Linked DNA regions of Homo sapiens: all the other regions are linked to region 2. The links are contacts of gene promoters, found by promoter capture Hi-C in blood cells and fetal thymus (Javierre and others, 2016). All regions are on one chromosome and are shown on one strand. Each heading gives the region's core, a stretch centred on a gene start or on the middle of the fragment in contact. The rest is flanking DNA. Distances are from core to core; before and after follow the strand shown.

The links. The method cuts DNA at HindIII sites, captures the fragments that hold promoters and counts their contacts. A CHiCAGO score of 5 or more calls a contact.
Region 1: a contact is called between a fragment that was not itself captured here and the fragment with the promoter of LINC01341 in region 2, in 1 of 17 cell types (megakaryocytes). The highest score is 5.2, in megakaryocytes.
Region 3: a contact is called between a fragment that was not itself captured here and the fragment with the promoter of LINC01341 in region 2, in 1 of 17 cell types (megakaryocytes). The highest score is 6.9, in megakaryocytes.
Region 4: a contact is called between a fragment that was not itself captured here and the fragment with the promoter of LINC01341 in region 2, in 1 of 17 cell types (megakaryocytes). The highest score is 6.2, in megakaryocytes.

Annotation. Positions count from the first base shown.
Region 1 is chr1:246,897,526-246,900,595 of GRCh38, forward strand. It overlaps AHCTF1 (AT-hook containing transcription factor 1), which reads right to left. Exons shown (of 36, transcript NM_001323342.2): 9 at 2,812-2,944; 10 at 2,540-2,721; 11 at 1,926-1,987; 12 at 683-811. Among named protein-coding and RNA genes, the nearest start is that of AHCTF1, 33 kb to the right of the region's middle. The HindIII fragment of the contact is 693 bases long and covers 973-1,665 here.
Region 2 is chr1:246,787,974-246,790,922 of GRCh38, forward strand. It overlaps LINC01341 (long intergenic non-protein coding RNA 1341), which reads left to right and starts at 1,644. Exons shown (of 2, transcript NR_015422.1): 1 at 1,644-1,725; 2 at 2,473-2,949. RefSeq lists a silencer at 885-964. The HindIII fragment of the contact is 6,171 bases long and covers 1-2,949 here.
Region 3 is chr1:246,854,194-246,857,251 of GRCh38, forward strand. It overlaps AHCTF1 (AT-hook containing transcription factor 1), which reads right to left. Exons shown (of 36, transcript NM_001323342.2): 31 at 1,537-1,634. Among named protein-coding and RNA genes, the nearest start is that of LINC01341, 66 kb to the left of the region's middle. The HindIII fragment of the contact is 1,441 bases long and covers 850-2,290 here.
Region 4 is chr1:246,870,298-246,873,481 of GRCh38, forward strand. All of the region lies in intron 24 of AHCTF1 (AT-hook containing transcription factor 1), which reads right to left. Among named protein-coding and RNA genes, the nearest start is that of AHCTF1, 60 kb to the right of the region's middle. The HindIII fragment of the contact is 1,678 bases long and covers 920-2,597 here.

The DNA of each region.
Region 1 (3,070 bases), core at 69-2,568, 110 kb after region 2:
TTACACAAACTTAGATGGTGTAGTCAACTACATATCAAGGCTATGTATATTGCTCCTAAGCTACAAACCTGTATAGCATGTTACTGTGCTGAATACTGTAAGCAACTGTAACACAATATGAAGTATACGTGTATTTAAACACAGAAAAGGTACAGTAAAAATACATTATTACAGGCTGGGCAAGGTGGCTCATGCCTGTAATTTCAGCACTTTGGGATGCCAAGGTGGGAGGGTAACTTGAGGCCTGGTGTTTAAGACCAGCCTAGGCAACATAGCGAGACCCTGTCTCTACCAAAAAAAAAAAGGGCTAAGCATAGTTGTGCCTGTCTGTAGTCCTAGCTACTTGCGGGGGCTGGGGTGGGAAGATCGCTTAAGCCCAAGAGGTTGAGGCTACAGTGAGCCATGACCATGCCACTGCATTCCAGCCTGAGGCAGCCATGAGGTGTTTCCTGTCCTGTATCCTTCTATACAGCTAAGTCAACCTGCTGCCAAGTTATGGCCTATTGGGTATTAGGAATAGGAATTTTAAACCAAACCTAAGACCACAACTGCTGATCACCCAGAGTCAGCATTACACTACTTCACCTATTTTTGCAGAAATTATCTAATACATTTTTACTGTAATAGAAAGCTAATAACGTGATCCAACCAAAAGAAACAATAGAGTTAAAAATCATCTCACTTGGCTTAAACTGGAAGGCTGAACATCAACAAATCTTGGGGAAAGAAGGCCAGCTACAAGACATCGATTATAACCATCAGGAATGAGTTCATTGAGTGATGGACCTGATTTCTTTAAAAAAGTCAAAGTCTGTAACAGATAAATTAGTAAGGCATCAATCAATGCTCAATTTGAATAATCAAATTTAAGATTAATTAATTACACTTAAAATTTAAGTAAAATTTAAAGATAGCAAGTGGAAATTATGAAAGACTATATTTCCTGCAAGAAACAGAGTTTATAGGTTCTTAAGCTTAACCAATGCTTGCTAGTTGTGAATACTACTATTAGCAAAAGGTAGCTTATATATTTTTATGAACTGTATAACCCTGCTGTCTTCTCTAAAGCTGACAGATTTGGTGACATCTTGACAAAACACACACACACACACACACACACACACACACACACACACACAGGAAAACTCCTGCAGTCTACTCCTCTTTATCTAATGTGAAAGAGATTTGATATTAAGTATAAATACAGCATTCATCCACATCTGGACGATTATCAATGAAAAGGTCTGCCACATCATACTTCCCTAGAAAAGCATTTTTCAGGCCAGGCACGGTGGCTCACGCTCATAATCCCAACACTTCGGGAGGCCGAGGCAGGCGGATCATCTGAGGTCAGGAGTTCGAGACCAGCCTGGCCAACATGGTGAAACCCCATCTCTACTAAAAATACAAAATATTAGCCGGGCGTGGTGGTGAGCACCTGTAATCCTAGCTATTCAGGTGGCGGAGGCAGAAGAATCACTTGAACCTGGGTGGCAGAGGTTGCAATGAGCCGAGATGGTGTCACTGCACCCCAGCCTGCGCAACAAGAGCGAAACTCCGTCTCAAAAAGAGAAAAGTATTTTTCAAAATTCTTTTTTTTTTTCCTGTGCCAGGCACTATACCACTGTGCTAGGTGCCTTCTTTGCATTACTTCATTTCCTCATAAGCTTTCTGAGGAGACAGAAAGCTTGAGGTTCACGTAGCTAGCATCTACATAAATTAGTTGCTAAAAACATACAATACGTCTTCCGGCAGGCTGTCATTAGTAACTGATACTACTAGTTGATAATCTCATAAACCTAGCAGAAGCTACCATTTAAGCTGAAACAACTGTCAATATCACTAAGTAAAACTTAAATCCATAAATCAACTATATTCTAAGATCTGACTTCAGTTCAATTAAGAAATCACTAGTTGTTACCTACCTCCTTCTGAAAGCCAGTACAAGTTAAATGAACAACTCCCGAGTTTAACAAACAAGTGGCATCTAAAAAAAAGATTTAAAAAATAATCCACTTACATATATTTAAAATGGCATTAATAGAACAAAATTTATCCAATAACAGACTGCAAGGCAAGGTGTCAAATTATTACATGTAATAAATCTTTAAATAAACTTTTCTAGGTATTTTCATCCTAAGAATAGATAACAAACCTATTACACAGCAAAACAAGAAAAAAGCAAAAAACAAAACCCAAAAAACTCCAAGCACAGCTGAGAAACACAGCAAAAAAAATAAAAGCTACTATAAAATGCACCAGATGTGAAACAGTTAATATCTTTCCTAGCAAGTTCAAAATAAGTCATAATTCCTTTATAAAACATATAAATACTAAATATCTCCAAGTCATAATTCCTTTATAAAACATATAAATACTAAGTTTCTTGTGTGTATATATTAATTTCCTAAGTTATCCATATGTTAACTAACAGTGAGATACAAACAGATAACACTAAATGAATAAACTACACAACGTATACATTTACATACTTTTGTGCATTACTTTTCTTAAGAGGTAATGTTAAGGAAATACATACCAAAATTATAAGTGCTTGGATTAAAAAACTGCTCGGGAGGTGGATATGAAGGAGGGACTCCTCTATTTAAACTTCTCTCATGTACTAATATATCCAAGATGCCATGTGGAGAAGTCCTACTTACAACAGACTCCAATGACCACAGTGCAAAATAAGAGCAATTATGTAGATATTCTCCTGACCTAAAAGAAAATTTAAAACATTACTAAGTCATTGGTCAGCTACACATACAAATACAAAGAGAAAGGAGAGAGAAAAAAAAAGAATCATACCTTAACGAATCTGGCATTTGTGCATGATACCAACGATTTATATCAAAAAGCCCCAAATATACAGAAGGCTTTCCCTGTCCATATATATTCACCTGCCAGGTAAAGACTGAAACACTAGTGTCAGGCGATAGAGCTGGAAGAAAAAGATAATTTTTAAAAACAGAATAAAGAATCTCAAAGTAAAATCACCTCAACAGAATTATAGCAAGATTTTCTCATAAATTAAGCGGTTTAATTCATATTTCACTTGATTCATCAA
Region 2 (2,949 bases), core at 394-2,893:
CCTTGACCCAAGGTGGCTCCAGACTGGAGGAGGGTGGGGCGAGGTGAAACATGGCTGGCTAGACGGAAGGCCTGGAGGTATCCTCAAGCTGCTGCTGGCACAGCAAGTGACCTGTGCTTCTCTTATACTTGGGGTGGCTTGAAGGAGGGGCTCGTGGAGATTATGGGAGGATCAATCTCCCTCCCAAACCCAGGCTGGTACTGCCTCTAATCAGGAAATCTCAACTCTTAGAGACCCCTGGCCTGTGGGTGCACACAGTGCCCTTGGCCCTGAGGTCTGACCCCAAACTGCTCACACAGCTGCTGCCTTGTTGGGGACCCAAGTCTTCCCTAGGGTCCGAGCCAGGGTCTGGGGCTGGTTCAGCTTCATGGCGCCACCAGGGCCACAGGGGCAGTGGCACGGTCAACCTCTGAGGACAGGTCAATGAACAGATGGCTTTTCCGGGCCTGGTATGACAGAGTCTTACTGGTTCGTTGTTTTGTTTTGTTTTGTTTTGTTTTGAAATGGAGTCTCGCTCTGTCACCCAGGCTGGAGTGCTGTGGCACGATCTCAGCTCACTGCAACCTCCTCCTCCCAGGTTCAGGCAATTCTCCTGCCTCAGCCTCCTGAGTAGCTGGGACTACAGGTGTGTGCCATCACATCCGGCTACTTTTTTGTATTTTTAGTAGAGACGGGGTTTCACTGTGTTAGCCAGGATGGTCTCGATCTCCTGACCTCGTGATCTGCCCGCCTCGGCCTCTCAAAGGGCTGGGATTACAGGCGTGAGCCACCGCGCCCGGCCTTGTTCATTTTTAAAAGTCGAAAACTTCAGCAGAAGAAGAGCAAGGAGGTGAATTTCTAATCGATTTATTTTGCTGAAATTCTGAGAGAAACACTGTGGTGTGGGGACAGGGAGGAGCTCTTGCACACACACAGGTGGATCTGCCCACTTTCCACCAGCGGTTTCATTACTGCGAGTTCAGGCAGAGTCCCGGTGCCGAGCAAAGCGTGGGGCCCCTCCGGGAAGCCCGCAGGTCACTCAGATCGCAGCGGGCTCCGGCCTGGCCAGGATTCTGGGGGAGCCGCCCGGAGCGCGGTGAATCGGGGCGGGGAGAGGGGCGGGGAAGGCGCGCGAAAGCCCCAGCAGAGACCGGCAGCGGCGGGCGGCCCGCGTGGGCTACTGCTGGGGGCTGCGTTCGGGCGAGGAGGGGAGATTCTGTCTCAGAGGCCTCGGGCTGCACGTTCTTCCGGGCCGCGCATTTGCAGCCCACAGCAGGCCCCAGCCGGCCCCTCTGGAGTTGGGCCACTGCTTCTGCAGGCCCAGCAGGCCCCTGGGGGCGGCCGGAGGCCACTAACTGGCTTCTCCAGCTCAGCATTCTTCTCTCATTTGCTGGGTACCCCACTCTCTTCTCTACCCCTTTGAACCATCTTTACCCTCATTCCTCAGGGAACGTTTAACGAGTTGAATGTTTACCATGTAGTCACTCTATATGGAAATCATAATTCAATTTTGTAAACATCAGACTTTGACAAAACAAATGATGATGTTCTTAAGGAAAGCAGAGAGACACAGTGTGAAATCGCTGCTCTCAGATCAGCACACGGGAGAGGCCAGCAGTCAGGAGGGGGCTCACCGAGTTTGTCTGCACTCGCTCCCTCCGCAGCCGCCCTCTCCAGCTGGAAGAAGTCGTAATCGAACCTGCTCAGGTCCTCACTGCCCCACTCCGAAGGAAACCCCACGTACAGGTAGGTGCTGTTGGATCCCAAAATCAGGCGGTCCTGGGGAGGAGACGGTGGGCTCAGGAGGGGTTCGAGGCCAAGGAGGGTGAGGTGAACCTCCCCAGTGAGAAGGATCTGAGGAATGTCCTCCCCTCAGGAATCCCCCAGACAGGGAGAGACGCAGACAGGAGGGAGGTGGCCTCTGGCTCCTGCGTTCACCTTCATTGCACACATTGAGGGCGTGACTCCCTTGGCCCTGGGGTTCTGTGGGGACCACCCAGAGCCAGGCCCTCCCTCCACGCTTTCCAGGCTGGTCTGGGTGAGTGCAGCAATGGCTGCAGGGGACACCAGGACCTAACTCAGACTACAGGCTACAGACGGCCTTTTCCGAGGCGTGATGCCCAAGCTAAGCCCTCCTGGGCGGTAAGTCTTGGTGAGGCAGAGACGGCTGCTGAACAACCAAAAGAAGGGCAGTGTGGCCAGGGACAGGAGGCCGAGGGAGGTCACTGAGGGGGCTTTCCAAATGGGGAGCGGCCAATCCCCATCTGCCTGTCCTGTCTGAAAGGCTGTGGCCACCAGGGAGGGGAGAGGGCTGCTGGGAAGCTGGCAGGGGCCCCAGGGTTGGCAGATTGGGGAGGAAGAGGCAGCGATGTTTGCAAGATGCTGTTCAACCCCTCTCAGTGACAGGCTCTTAGAAAAATCTAAAATGGCACAAAATGTTAGAGCTGGAAGGGACCTTGGAGAACACCTAGTTCAGCCCTCCTTGTTTTCCAGGTGAGGTCAGAGGAGTGAAGTGACTTGCCCAAGACCACACAGTGAGTCAGGAGCAGGCCTGTCCCTCCAGCAGTGGTGCCATGTTGTCCCCAAGCCATGGTGGCAGAGGAGCTGGTGTGAACGCCCCATCCTGCCACGTCTGTGATGTGGGCACCTCACATGACTGTCCCCTCCCAGCTCTTGGGGGGGACCTAGGACATTCTGTGAGCCTGCAGGAAAGTTTACCAAATGCTGCAGCTTTGTCCTGGTGGTGATGGGCACCCCGTTAACGGCAACCTTGCATTTGCTATGTGGAGTGACCGTCACTTTACCGTCGGCATTTGTGAAGGAAGCGTGTTTATCTGAAATTCTAAGAAGATGAGAGTCAAAGACACCCAGCAAACGGCGGTTTCCGTGAGCAGGTAGGCTGACCTTTCTCATGTGCACAGGAGGGAAGGTCTACAGCTGCGGAGGATGGCAGGTGGCATCTCGGGGCCT
Region 3 (3,058 bases), core at 320-2,819, 66 kb after region 2:
GAGACTGAGGCAGGAGAATAGCGTGAGCCTGGGAGGCGGAGCTTGCAGTGAGCCGAGATTGCACCACTGCACTCTAGCCTGGGTGACAGAGCGAGACTCTGTTTCAAAAAAAAAAAAAAAAAAATCTGTACATACTTCTGGACCCAACAAGTCCATGGTTAGGAATCTACCCGAAAGAAATACTGACATAGAATGTAATGTGCACAAGAATATTCACTGCAGAAACAGCAAAACAAACCCCAAAATGGTGATTGGCCCAAATGTTCAGCAATAAGCAATTAGTTAAGCATGTAACATCTACACTACAAAACACTATTAGAGCTGTTAAAAAGAACAGGATTAATCTATATTCCTGACAGAAAAAATGTCTTAAATATATTACATGAGAAAAGAAAGTTGCTTTTTTGATAATGATCATTTCTAACAGCTAACATTTACTAAACTTCAGGTACCAAGCGCTACACAAAACACTTTACATGCAAGGGGCTTAATCCTGACAACTCTAGGAAATGGGTCTTATTAATATTCCCATTTAAAACTATTAATATTTTACCAACAAAAAAAAATAGAGACACAGCCCTTAAGTGCAGAACTGGGAAGTGCAGAACTGGGTTAGGAACCCACACATTCGGGTTCAGCCCCCTGCACTCTTCAGGCACCGTCTTGTCTCCTCTTCCAACATATCGGGAGAAATGGGCACAGAAAACAAAAATTCAGGAAAGACACTTTAAATGGTTAATTATGGACCCCTAAAATGGGTGATCGGCTTTTTACATGTTAGACAATTCTCTCTGGATTACTCCATAATCATGTATTACCTTAATCATGGGACAAAAACTAGTCTGCTGAAGCTTGCCGTATACCCCATTCATAATGTACCAGGAACAAAGGCATAACAGTTGAGAGCATGGGCTCTAGAGTCAGATAACAACTATGTCATAGTATAGTGCTGTGAGGATTAAATGAGTTAATAGACACAAGATGATCAGACCAATTCTGGGCATAGACATTCAAGGTGTCTGCTTCCCCTGAATCCAACTGTAAGCTCCTTAAGAAAATCCTATCTTCCTCATCTCTGTATAGCCAGGGCCTAACTGAGAATAGGCCTTCACAAAAATGCTCATTGGATTAAAAAAAAAATTCCATATATTTGTTAATTTCCCTGGAGAATATTCAGTCATTTGTGATTATTTTCTAATAATGAAAAGTCAACCTTGGCCTTAAGTTATCACAAACAAACACGAAATAACTCTTCTGAGTCCAAGAAGATCAAACGGCAGGGATGCATTTGGCTGTGGACTAGTAATCTAAGACTTTGAATATTAGAGCCACAGAATGCCTTACAAGCAACCCACTGTCTGACAGCTTATATATCTCCTTAGAATACTTCTACACCAGGAAAGCTGACCAGAGAGAGGAATAACTGAGGAGGAAAAATCTGAATAACACAATAGATTATTTTGTTCTAAGAACAGAAAACTCTTCACTCAAAACACAAAAATGGAATAATCCTGAAGTCAAAATTATTATACATACATTTATTGTCATTTGCTCTAATTGCAGGGGTGTAGGTTTCAACAGATGTTAATCCTTCGTCCAACACTGGTACCTTGGACTTCTGGGTGAAGATTTTCCTTTAGAAAAAGAAATACATACCTTAGTGTGTAAGAAGATCCCATCTGCTTTAACCTGCTTTAGTCCTACCACCTAACCTGTCATTTTGGTGATGTAAACTGAGGTTCAGAGAATTCAATACAACTCAAGCTCATTCTGAACAATAATATAAAATTTAAAAGTGAATTCAGAAACAATGCTGTACTTGTTTTACCCATTTTCTAATGTTTTACTCTTTTGGCAACAATGGCATGGCCTTAAAGTAGAAATGAAATGATTTTAAAATGCCTGTCAGTATACATTATATTTAAGCCAATTTTTAATAATCTGTGGCCAGTCTTCAAATAAGTCTGTCAAGTATTCTGGAATATTTTCTATGAACTCAGTAGAGGCAAGGTTCAATATTTTAATGCTACCTAGAAAAAGTATGATAAATGACTCAGAATAAGAGACCAATGAAACCTGTATTAATCCACATGAAAATAAATCCTGGAATATGATGACAGTGTTCCTTTAATATTCTAATCTGACCTTTCTCAAAACCCAATTAAAGCATGCTAATTTTGAAAATTACAACAAATAGTATTTGAAAGTAAATTCAATAAAAAGGTATTTGAAACATTTATAGATTTTACCATAAAAGTAACAGTGATACATCACCACAAAATATCAAATAAGCTTATATTTTAAAAGGAACTAGTTAGCCAAGATAGTGAATATGCACCCAGGTTCTCACTGGTAACTCTCATGTGATTCCTTCTCATGCTGGTAACTCTCATGTGATTCCTTCTCATGCGACTGCTCTTTGCTTTGCAATTATCCATGAAAGCCATTGCAATAAATAACATTAGTTTTCATTAAAATTCAAAAAACATTACAATGAAAAAATAATTTGGATAATCCTTTCATACTGGCTTCTACTTTTTCCATGCAGGCCTGGCAAAAATTCCAGCTAATCTAGATTTCTCAGGCGTAAAGCATGTGATTTAGTTCAAGGTACAAGGGGTGACTATCATGATACTGAATTGTATAGGTGGTCTGGTAAGTCCCTTTCATTATGTATAAAGTAACGAACCATTTATAATGTTGTAAGTTATATTTTGTGTCGGTTAATTTTACTGAATCACCCTTACTACTACTTGATAACTGAAGCTGTCCCTTTTTTGTATCCTCTACAACGGTGTTATTCAAAAGTGCGGACATGCAATCTGTGTCAGTCTCGCAATGAGACAAGGACCTCTTGCCAGAAGGTGAATCAATTGCTTCACTAATCATACTGATTAGTACAGCTGACTTTCCGTAAAGGAGGCAGTGCACTTATCTATATTCCAAGGCAGGCTGTTTATCTTGTTGCAGAACATAAACTGACACTCTCACCAATCTGCTTGACCATACTTTGAATACGTCATCTGGTAAAGTGTCAATGAAAATTATTTGGGAGTAT
Region 4 (3,184 bases), core at 509-3,008, 82 kb after region 2:
TTGCAGTCTCAGCCACTCGGAAAGCTGAGGCAGGAGGATCACTTGAGCTCAGAAGGTCAAGGCTACAATGAGCTATGATTATACCACTGTACTAGAGCATCTGTGACAGACAAAGACCTTGTCTCTTAAAAAAACAAAAACAGACTAAAGATGTGATGAATTGCTGTAATCTCATGATAAAACATGAATAAATGAGGAATTGCTTCTTACAGATAGGCAAACAAGTGGTTTCTTGAGACAGAATCTACAGTGTTGAAATGATAAAGTGTAAACAGATAGAGGGTCTCCAGGGATTATAGGAATTTTACATTTAAAAGAGAAAAGTATAATATGTAAGCAATATTTTAATTACTAGCTCCTCTAAAGAGGAATCTAGTATAAATACTGTACCCTAAACTTTCTAGCTAAAAGAGGGTATAAAACCTCAAAAAAAAAAAAAAAAAGCCCTAGGCTATTTAATTTCTCAGGGACAGGGGTGTCCTTCCCAGGACAGGAAAATGGCTGTGTATCAAATACCTCCTCCTCAGAACCAAAAATTCTTGAAAATGGCCGGATTCTGTCACATATAAATTCCCAATTCGGGTATTTTAACAAAGCCTTTTTATAAAAAGCTACAAGAGCTGGAGTCAGACCCTTTTAAAGAAGACAAACAATACAACTGAGCCTTCGAAAAACTAAAAACAACCAAGCAAACAAAAAGTGACTGCGCTCCCACTGTAGCCTTGCTTAAGTTGCCAAACCTTTTGACTTATCTGTCTCATAAAAGGCAGGGAACAGCTAGCCAGGGGAGCACTTACCCAAATGCTAGGACCACTAAAAAAGGTGGTGGCTCATTTTTTTCTAACCAACTTGACATGGTGGCCACCAAAAGGCCCCCATGTCTTAGGACAGTGGTTACTACTTGCCTATTAGTGAGAAAAGCTTAAAAACAAACCATGACTCAGACATTAATGGTCTAGGTCCTCAGTTATCCAGAGTGCTAAAAACAGAGACACCACTCGCTTACTGATGGGAGGATGTTACAATAAAAAGTTAAATTAAGAGGCAGCCACATCAAGGTGTGCCAGATCCTTACTTAACCCTGCCATGTTTCTTTCCACCTCCCAGGAACTGCTCCCACACAAATACTCAACCACTACTGATAAAATGTATTCTAGTCAAAAGGACCTAAAAAACAAACCCTTTCAGAACTCTCAAGTTAACAAAGCCTTTCTTCGTAAATCAGAGTAACATCACAGAAAGGGGCCCAGAAAAACAAGGTATACAGTGCTGTCCTCACTTGGAGTTAAAGAGGCTAACAGCCTACCTCTGTGAACCCTGACTAGATGAGCCTCATCTTCAGGACAGGCTAAGGCCATCATGTCTCCACAGACTCTAAGTATGCTTTCTCTGTAATCCATGCCTACAGTGCATTTTTTTTTGAGGCCTCCTGACTGCAGACTATAAGGAGGTTAATAATATTAAAAACATTACAGCTATTAGAGGCAGCAGTATAGCTACCTAAAAGGGTAGCAGTGGCCTACTGCCAGGGTCACAAAAAAATAAAAAATAAAAATTTGAGGTTATTAAAAAATAATAACAACCTAAAGACACAGCTACTAAAAAGACAACACAAACATGTGAACTTTACAAATGACCCTGATCCCAGACATCCTACTCCACAAGTCCCAGCCTCAGTGTTCACCTCAGGAGTTAAAGCCAAACGCAAAGGGTATTTTCCACACTTAGATTCAGAAAGATGAACTATTAATGACAAAAAAAAAAAAAAAAAAAGAACCTAGATTCCCAAAAACCTAGGGTGGTCTCTAACTAAATATGGTCATAGATCATCACATTATGGTAAATAACAAAACAAAACAAACCTTACGCAATTAGTTACTAAAGATACCTGATCTAAAAGATAAAACAGATCAAGGATCTAACAGGTGTCTCCAATTTGTACAAAATAATACTCAGATCGGGCTCCCTTGTGACTCCACTAACCCAAGCTGTCCAGCTGGGGTGGCACGCCAGGAAAAGACTGACAAGAAGACTTTACAGTGATGCCCCAGGACCCAAAAACTTCAGGTACCTACTAGTGTAGACACCTTTACTGGCTAAATAAAAGGGATACACCCTTGTCACACACAAAAAGACAAATGAGGTGGTCAGAGCTTTACTCAAAGACATCATCTTGAGGTTCTGGCTTACTCCAACCAATCCAGAGTGACAACAGAACTGCCTTCATTTACAAAGTTACTTAGGGGGTGTCCTCTGCCTTGGAAATTAAATAGAGGAGGTTACACATAACTTAAGAAACCTCATTCATCTAAAAAGGTCAAGCATAGTAATAAAACATAAGGATCACGCTAGCCAAACTATGCCAGGAAACTCAAAAACTGACTAAAGCTCCTTCCCATCGCACTATCATGGGTGCTGAAAGGGAATGGGACTTGGCCCTTTCCAATCACTATATAGAAGAGCTTGCTTGGCATGATTGAACCTTCGAAGTGTGCTGCTGTCGAGACCAAGAGGGCAGTAAAACATGCTGTAGATTTTTAAAAATACAAACTCTTAAAACATGTGAAACCACAAACTTCTAGTTCCCACTGAGGTTAAGCTTCACCCATATTAACCTAGAGACCGGGTTCACCTTAAGACTCAAAAATCCAAATCGCCTCCAGACCAACTAAACTGTTTGGACCATGTATTATTAAGCACTCACTCTTCTCCTAAGTTTCAGGGGCTCAGACCCTAAAAGCCATCATTCCTGAGTGAATCCTGCACCAGAGCCCTCAGATCAGGCGCTACTAGGTTCGACTTATTCCTATAAGCCAGTCTCTGATCTCAAGCTTCTCTTCTGGGGAAGGGATATTACATGTTAAGTAAATGTGCCCTTGCCATACTCTTGATATATTCAAACTTTCTCCCTTATAGAACTCTCTATACTCATTACTCTTCTGTAAAAGAAAAAAATCTTAACCGGTGATAAATCACCATATAAAAAAATAGACTCTTTCTCCCTGTGCTGTTTAGTCCCTTTTATTACTGTGGCTGATGGTCTCTGGAAAGACAATTCACTAGTCAATTTCTCCTGCATCACAGCAAAGGGAAAGAATCCGTCCCAATACTAAATATACTAGAGACAATACACTAGTCAATTTCTCCTGCATCATAGCGAAGGGAAAGAATCCGTCCCAATACT